2 separate regions of the Homo sapiens genome follow, and region 2 is linked to region 1. Evidence: promoter capture Hi-C in 16 types of primary human blood cells and fetal thymus (Javierre and others, 2016). All regions are on one chromosome and are shown on one strand. Each heading gives the region's core, a stretch centred on a gene start or on the middle of the fragment in contact. The rest is flanking DNA. Distances are from core to core; before and after follow the strand shown. Region 1 overlaps ENOPH1 (enolase-phosphatase 1). Region 2 holds the start of COPS4 (COP9 signalosome subunit 4).

Region 1 (4,156 bases), core at 127-2,626:
TCTTTAATGGGCTCCCCTGCCACTCTCCTGGTTTTCCTTCCTCAGTGCCCAATACTTTCCCATCTCCTTTGCTGGTTTCTTTGCTTGGCTTGACCTCTAGTGTTGGAGCCTACGGGCTGTTTAGGCTCTCTTCTCTATCAACAGACTCTTCCTAAGCAACCCCATCCCATGGCTTTTAATAGCATCTCTATGCCAGTGAACTCTCAAATCTGATCTCCAGCCAGGCCAGCATTCTGAACTCTAGACTTATATCCAACTGCTCTTCGGTCATGTTGACATCAGGATCTACATTGGCTTTACATTATTATCAGCAGCACTGCTATTTTTCCAGTAGTATCATCTATCCAGTTGCTTAAGCTAAAAATGTAAGAGTTACCCTTTCAAATCCAATCAATCAATAAGTGGTCACTGTCATGTCTAAAACCTATTCTGAATCTTTCCACTTCTATTTCTGCTTTTACCACCCTAAGGCAAGCCACCACCATCCCTTACCTTCATTACTACAACAGCCTTCTCAGACCCAGTAGATTGACTCTCTCAAGTGCCAATTTTACCCCCTAATTGGAGAAGAGATGGAAGTGTTCTGTTTGGAGAGGTTGCAGCAATGGGGCCTGGCATTCCAGAGTCTGGCCAGCGTCGTGGGCATGAGCTACAGTGGCAATGGTAGCAGGCTTCCTGAGCTAACCACTGTGAGGTGTCCTCTAACTCCACAGTCCAGTGGTAGTTGCCCTGACTCTTCTCCCAGTTCTTCCACTGATGTTGTATACACCTAACTCCTTGTGATTTTTGCCTGCAGCACTCAACCCTGATATACTTAACTCACCTTCCTGCATGCAGTCATGCCCACTTATAAACCATTCTCCATTCCATACAGAATTCCTTAAATATGTAAACCACTCAGGTTATCTTCTGCTCAAAGTCCTCCAGGGGCTTTTTACCATACTTAGAATACAATTCAAACTTCTTACTGGAGTACAAAGCACTATCATCTGGCTTCAGCCCACTTCTCTGATGGTATCCAGCCACTGGGCTCTCAATTCCTGAAAAAGGCCAAGCTTTGCCCTAGATCTGTGCTATGCTGTTCCATCTGCATGGAACACCAGTTCTCCTAGTTTCCTACATGTCTTCCATGTCATTTAGATTAGATGTCACCTTCTCATCACCCCTCCTGTAAAGTTATTCTACCCTGTGTTCTCTGCAGAGCGCTTACTAGTATCTAATTTTTTCTTGTCTTAGTCACCATTGTTTCTCTTCTCGAAAAATGTATGCACAATGGGAGTAGAGAGGAACTTTGTCCCCTCATAGCAGATCTGGGATGCAAGGTAAATGCTTAATAAATATTTAAGGAATAAATTTGGGTTGAATTTGTAAGGTAGAAATTTTACTTCTGTCAGTTACTCCAAGTGTTTTAGTAAAAACTCCACGTTATTCTTAAATATTAGGTTGAGGATAATATCACTTTGCCATCTGGGCACAGGTGGTAGGTTAACAAACTTTTGGAATATATTATACTCAACTTTGTACTCGTGGGAATAAAAAAAGCCCTGAAAACAATCCCTTTTTAACACTGCCGCTGGAAAAAGGGGCTAAAAATCACTAATTTTTTATTGAGGAAAAGGAATATTAGATAGTTGGATTTCATTCAGGATTACTGCCATTTTTTCCAAACTACTCCAACTCTTGCAACATCAAGCTTTTGGCTTGTAAGGATAAACAAAATATAGTTTTCTCTCTCTTAGCTCCATCTGCTGTATTTGGCGGGCGACGGGGCGGGGGTTGGGGGAGGGGGGGAGGAGGGGTGGAGCCTCACACTTCATATCAAGTCTGGAGAAACAGCACCATCTGCTGGGGAAAGGCTGCCGTGCATCTGCCCTGGCAATAAGCCAGTGGCTTTCAACCTTTCCTTGTGCAACTACACATTTGACATTCTGCGTAGCAACTAAAACCCGCTTTCCAGACCAAAAAGAAGTCCTGCTACTCCAGAAATGTTGATAAGATTAGAGAATCTTCTGTTAAGGGCTTCTCTTCTAAAAAACCAACCTGGGCTTTGACCCAAGATTAGAAATCAGCGCCACTGTAGGAAAGAGAACAACAGAGGTACATCTGGATTAATAAACAGGAATAAAAAGAGCCACAACTTTAAGACGCTTTTGTCCTCCATATTCTCTGCAAACAAGAGGCTGAGGCCTTTGTCCTCTTTTTGGAAGTTCCAGAGGTTTTTTGCCTTCCTTCCCCTCATAAGGACTATGAATTCATCTGACTTCATCTTCTAGCTCATTATCCACATTAAAAAAAGTTTTTTAATGATGCATAACTGTGCATATTTATGGGGTACACTGTGGTGTTTCAATACATGTATACATTGTGTATCACTGCTTACATTCTTAGATAGGTATTTTTCCTCTCTTGCCAATCTACTTTATCTTTCAAATTCTTCCTACGACCTTTCTCCATCATTTGTGAATGGTTTTCCTAGGATCTAAAAACGATTCCATTCAACTAGTTTTTCCCTTACTTTGCAAAATAAATCTGATACTTCAATTTTCTCTTAATTCCTGAAATCTATTGATTTTCTGTCCTCCTTACTCAGTGTACATGGGTAGTAAAATGCCTCTCCACCTCAATCCTTTGCTGGCTAGATGCTGTGTGCCTTCCTTTTTATTCAATTCCTTTCTAATCTAGATCCTAGTGCCTAATCTTCTCATTTCTTCATTTTCCAACTACTCCTTAAATAACATTAAGATATACCCCTTTCTGCCATCTGCCTATGAGCTTTCCAAAAAAGGTATTAAGTTCATCCTTTTATTACTATTTGTGGTTTTATCATCATTTACAAATTATTCCCATTTCTAAGATGTACCTAAACTCATTTCCTTTCTTTTTTATTCATATATTTTCATAGACCCTAGATTTCTTAATTGGCTACTAGATCAAAATTATCAACATAAAATCTTTTATATCCCCTGTCCTCTCATAGTTCTAAGACTTCTTTTTCCTTATTCAAAGCATTTCTAAAATTGCTCCTCCAGGATTCGTGAGTTTTTCTTGATTAGTTAGGAGAGTAACTCCCTCCTTCAAGCATTACCTTAGAGACCTCAAAGTTAAGATTCTCAAAAATATAAGGAACTCCACTCATATCCTGAATGCTTACTATCCAAATGGAATAGTAACCTTATATGTATACATAACTCAAATAATAACCATGAATTGCCACCGGCACTCCATTAAAACACACACATGATACACGATTAAGATAAGAGCTAAATATTCTTGTTTTTCAGTTTCTCTTTTGCTATGGCGGCATGTGGATAGAGTTCAGGAACCTATATAAAACTGAGTGAAGAAAAAATGCTTTTATTAATCACAACATGAAATTAACATGACATCGTATTAGAATTAAACCAGGATAAATACTGCTGTTATAAAATTTACATTTCTCACATCCATTCCAGAGGAAAATCTTACATATTAGGGCTCATCTTAATGTTATGGACTGATTTCAGTAAAACTTTTTAAATAGTAAATAGCAATTAACGTATTCTCAAACTGTGCTAAGTAGTTAGAAAGGCAACTATAAAATCTATAATGATAACACGTGGCAGGATTAGAACTGTTCTGTTAAACATTAAGAACCACATCTCTGTTTTAGATGTTACCTCAGTGCACCTTTTTCACTGGTAAGGCAACTGCTTGCTGTGGGTGCCACAATGATTACCAAGTTTCTTCTTAAGTAAAAGACACTTGTTTGATCAAGACTCAAGTGAGTTTTCTTTCCCAATTTTGTTCTTTTGAAGCAGAAGGAAATACCTTGGTCTTTGATATATATAAGGAGGCAAATATGAAATACAGCTGTTATAATCTTCTAAATCACAAGGGCAATGAATTATTCATTTTCTTTGAAAATATTCAGTCTTTGAAATATTTCATTTTTAAAATAACAAGGCTTCTGAATAATTTCTCAAAACTAGCTTTCCATTTTAGTACACGATTTGATAAACATAGCACATTAGATAGGTATTTAGCAATTTCTTCTACCAACTACACTTTGCCCTCACTAAGGGTTAGAGTATGATTTGAAACAATTTCTACATATAAAGCATCTTTAAATAAGTTTTGTGTTCACTGAACTGAGACTTCTTTCACTTATGTACCTATG
Region 2 (4,399 bases), core at 1,574-4,073, 570 kb before region 1:
TTTCTTATATAAACTTTAGACAGCTGTGTTAATTCACAGTTATGGGAAAGCATTTCTAACTGAGTTTTTAACAAGAAAACGAGCATAGTCTGGTAGGTTTAAAATGAGCTTTTTAGAGTAGATGAACCTGGATTCAAATACAAGCACTGCCCCTTTCTAGCTATTCATTAATTCAACCACGTTTATTGAACAACTACTGTTACAGATATCCCAATTGCTAGGAACACACAGTATTGATGTTTTAGAAACAATGTATTCCATTATTCTTTAATATGGAATCCTTTGTTACTCAGCTCCTAAAAAAAACACCCAAAAACCTTCATTAAAAGTACATACAAGAAAAAATACATTAAAAAAAAACACACTGATATATTTCAAGGGTATTTCTCTTAAAGCATATAGCTGGTAGAACTGATGTTGTTGTAAGGATAAATATCCTGCTACATTCTTGCCCACATAGGAAATGCAGGCAAGGCCAAGACTTTTCTCAGAAAGCAGCTCTGAAGGAGTTATGGCTAAGACTGCACTGGCTATCAGTTATCAAGCACATTATTTCATTTAATCTTCACAATAACACCATGTGGTAGACTGCTACAGTAACGGCTTCCAATGAATCGTGTCTCCCTCTGTCCAGGCTCCTTTGCAATGTAACTTTGCCACTAAAGAGGTAGTAGTAAGCTCCATTTCCCCTCCCCTTGAATCTGGGCTGGTCTTCTGATTTACTTTGACCAGTACTAGAGAACTGACGTGAGACTTCCTAGGCTATCCTTAAGAGGTCTTGCGACTTCCCCTCTCATAGGCACCTAAGAAAGCCCAAGCTAAACTACTGAATGAGAGACTGTGCAGAGAGAGAGAGAGATCCAGGCAAGAGCAAGATATGCATGTGAGTCCCGCCCCAGGTGTGTTGCCAGCTGACTATATCTGCATGAGTGAGCCCAGACAAGACCAGCAAAGCAGTCCAGTCAACCCATAGAATCCTGAGAAATCATAGTTGTTTTACACTGGTTAAGTTTTTGGTTTGTTACAAAGCAACAGATAACTGAAGCACGCTTTAAGTACTATTGTTTATCTCCAATTCAGACCTGAAGAAGTAAATACTTAAGTTTCAGAATTCTGCAAATACTTGCAAAGCTCTATTTCTTTTGATAACTAATGCACTTATTCTTCTTTAACAAAATAAAAAGTAAAGGAAGCATGGGGAAAAATATAAGCTGATTTTACTTTCATCCATATAAAAATTACAAGCAGAAAGGATTGAGCCATGAAGACATATTTAACTTATTTCCAACCCATACAATAAGTGAATATATATTTACTGACAGCTTAATAGTAACAACAACAATCTTACCGCACTTTCTATATGTCAGGTACTGTTCTACGTGATATAAGTGTGGTAAGTATATATGCACACACATACTCATCTTGTCCTCAGATAATGTCAGACAAGAATAAGTCCTATTATTATCTTCATTTTCCTGAGTGGGAAAATGCAGCACAAAGTAGTTAAGCCCAAAATATACGGCTGAATTTCCCACTGATAAAAGTAGATTACGTTTGCCACCAGAGAAAAGGCAGCCTAGCCTACTTAAAACAGTCAGAATTTCAATGACCAGGTTAGAACAGGTGTATCCCATTAATATACATCAAAGTGATTTCAGCTGTCAGGATGTAAACATTAAGATCAACTTGAGAGGCATACTTTATTTACTTATTTATTTACGGAGACGGGTGGCGGCGGGGGGGGGGGTCTCACTATGTTGCCCAGGCTGGTCTAGAACTCCTGCCCTCAAGTGATCCTCCCTCTCAGATCTCTCAGGCCTCAAGTGATCTCAGCCTCTCAAAGTGCTGGGATTACAGGCGTGAGCCACTGCACCCGGCCTAGAGAGGCATACTTTAAACAGAAAGCATGTTCATTACAAAAGAGAAATGCTGTGACATCTACAAAGAGAAAATGAACAATATACGTCTACCTACCTATGCTTAATACTGTTGACAACTGCTTGCAGAACAGGCACGTCACACATTTTAACTTGGAGTGAACCTAAGCATTCTATATAAATTTCGACAAAATTCAGATTCCTGCAAACATCACTACTGTAGACATCCTGACCCACGATATGAGCACATTCCGCCTATGTGCCATCAGAGTTGGTGGCAGAGAAAATACCCGAAACACAAGGACCCACAGAAGACAGTCTGAATGGTCTGGACGACATGACAGCGGCCATACCGCCTCAACCTCAGCCAGCCCCAAGAAGCCATCTCCCCGAAAAACGCAGCATCAAGGCCCCAGAATATACATTTCTCTGAATCAAAAAAAAAGAGGAGGAAGGTCCAAAGAGAGGCCAGATTCGGTGTGAGGCCGGCCAGCGATGGGAAGAGGTACCAGGGAAGGCTACTAAGGCCAGGGTAGCAGTCGTCTCTCAGACCGCTGTTCCAAAATCCTAAGGGACCAGAAAGATTCTATCAAGAACTGAACAAGCTGACAATCATTTCAAGTCTATAGCCTCGAAGGCCCCTGCACAAGGTCCCCTCCAGCTTTCTGCTTCTCCCAACATTTGCCTCCCCAGCCGACCTCAGGCCCGCCCCCTTGGACGTCAGGCCGGCTCCTAGCTTCACGCCCAAGAGCCGTGGCCAACCTAAGGAGATTAAGGCTGTGGCTTTCTTTCCCCACCTCTGTACTCCCGCGTTCCTGGGAAATACTCACTTGCCAGCCAGATCTTTATGAGAGCCGCTCGAATTCATGAGCTGGGCCAAATCCTGTCGCACGGCTGCCGCCATCTTTCTCCCAGCTCAGCGGTGGATGCGGGGGCCTCTGGCAGCCAAAAAGAAAACGAGTGTGGTCCTCCAGAGTGCAGCCAGAGGGAACCTGAGATGCTACAGAGTAGCGTCTGTGTGGGCCAGAGCGTCGGGTGTGGGAGCCTGGGCTAGCTCCGCCCCCAGGGTTGAGTGATGCGGAGCTCCACTCCTCAGGTCTGAGGCCTGCCCAGGTCTCTCCTACAGGCTCTGGCTCTCACGCTTGGACTTTGGATTGGCTGATGAACTCCAGTAGTGAGTCTCTGGTGTAACTCCAATGAGTAGCCGGTACATAAAACGACTGCGTTTTCGCAAAGTTCCGTTTCTCACGTCTGTGGTTTACCGTCCTTCGATCTTTCAGGCAGCGCTTAAACTGCCTGTGGTAAAGAATGAGTTTTGTTTCCGATTCACCACAGAAGATACTTTTTAGAAATACAATTAAAATGTCCCTATTCCTCCTCCCACTCCGTGCACTTTATAATGGTTGGTCAGACATTCCAGTTTGTCCAGTACAAAGCGATTTTCCCTCTGTCGTCCTGGAGTAATGATTAATATCCCCCCTTTCGGCCGGGCGCGGTGGCTCACGCCTGTAATCCCAGCACTTTGGGCAGCCGAGGCGGGCGGATCACGAGGTCAAGAGATCGAGGCCATCCTGGCTAACACGGTGAAACCCCGTTCTCTACTAAAAATACAAAAAAATTAGCCGGGCGTAGGTGGTGCACCCCTGTAGTCCCAGCAACTCGGGAGGCTGAGGCAGGAGAATGGCGTGAACCCGGGAGGCGGAGTTTGCAGTGAGCCGAGATCGCGCCACTGCACTCCAGCCTGGGAGACACAGCGAGACTCGGTCTCAAAAAATAATAATAATAATAATAACATCCTCCCTTTCATTCTAGAAACCGTTCCATTTCAATGGAAGATTATATGGTCGCCTGCGTTTGTATAACATTCAATACTCATGTATTCTTATAGAATTTCTGCAAATACAAGCAAATATTAATAAAATAAAATTTTACCTCTCACAAGCAACACCACATAATTGTTCTGCCTTGGTTTTTTTTTTTTGCACTTTTCCTGGTACTGTGGTTTGAAATAATTGTCTTCTCCAAAACTCATGTTGAGGGCTGGCGCCGTGGCTCACGTCTGTAATCCCAGCACTTTGGGAGGCCGAGGTGGACGGATCACCTGAGGTCGGGAGTTCGAGACCAGCCTGACCAACATGGAGAAACCCCGTCTCAACTAAAAATACAAAAATTAGCTGGGTGTGGTGGCACGTGCCTGTAATCTCAGCTACTCGGGAGGCTGAGGCACGAGAATCACTTGAAGCTGGAAGGCGAAGGTTACGGTGAGCCAAGATTGCACCACTGCACTCCAGCCTGGGCAACAAGAGGGAAATTCCGTCTCAAAAAAAAAAAAAAAAACAAACAACTCATGTTGAAACTTCATCTTTAATGTGGCAGTATTTAGAGGTGGGCCTTAAATAGGTGATTGGATCATGAGGGCAAAACCCTTGATCTATTCATGGATTAATGGGTTGTCATGGGAGAGAACATGTGGCTTTATTAGAAGAGGAAGAGACCTGAGCTAGCATGTTAGGAAGGTCACT

What was found. Contacts are between HindIII fragments. The CHiCAGO score rates a contact against its expected background, and 5 or more counts as called.
Region 2: the fragment with the promoter of COPS4 here is called in contact with a fragment that was not itself captured in region 1 in 4 of 17 cell types (total B cells, total CD8 T cells, fetal thymus and 1 more); the score reaches 7.9 in total B cells.

The regions. Positions count from the first base shown.
Region 1 is chr4:82,460,270-82,464,425 of GRCh38, reverse strand. ENOPH1 (enolase-phosphatase 1) reads right to left here. Exons shown (of 6, transcript NM_021204.5): 6 at 3,249-4,156. Among named protein-coding and RNA genes, the nearest start is that of ENOPH1, 32 kb to the right of the region's middle. The HindIII fragment of the contact is 638 bases long and covers 1,058-1,695 here.
Region 2 is chr4:83,033,607-83,038,005 of GRCh38, reverse strand. COPS4 (COP9 signalosome subunit 4) reads right to left here and starts at 2,823. Exons shown (of 10, transcript NM_016129.3): 1 at 2,708-2,823. The coding sequence starts at 2,781. RefSeq lists enhancers at 2,334-2,393, 1,935-2,440, 2,454-2,513, 2,554-2,603, 2,704-3,053 and 2 more. The HindIII fragment of the contact is 6,632 bases long and covers 1-4,399 here.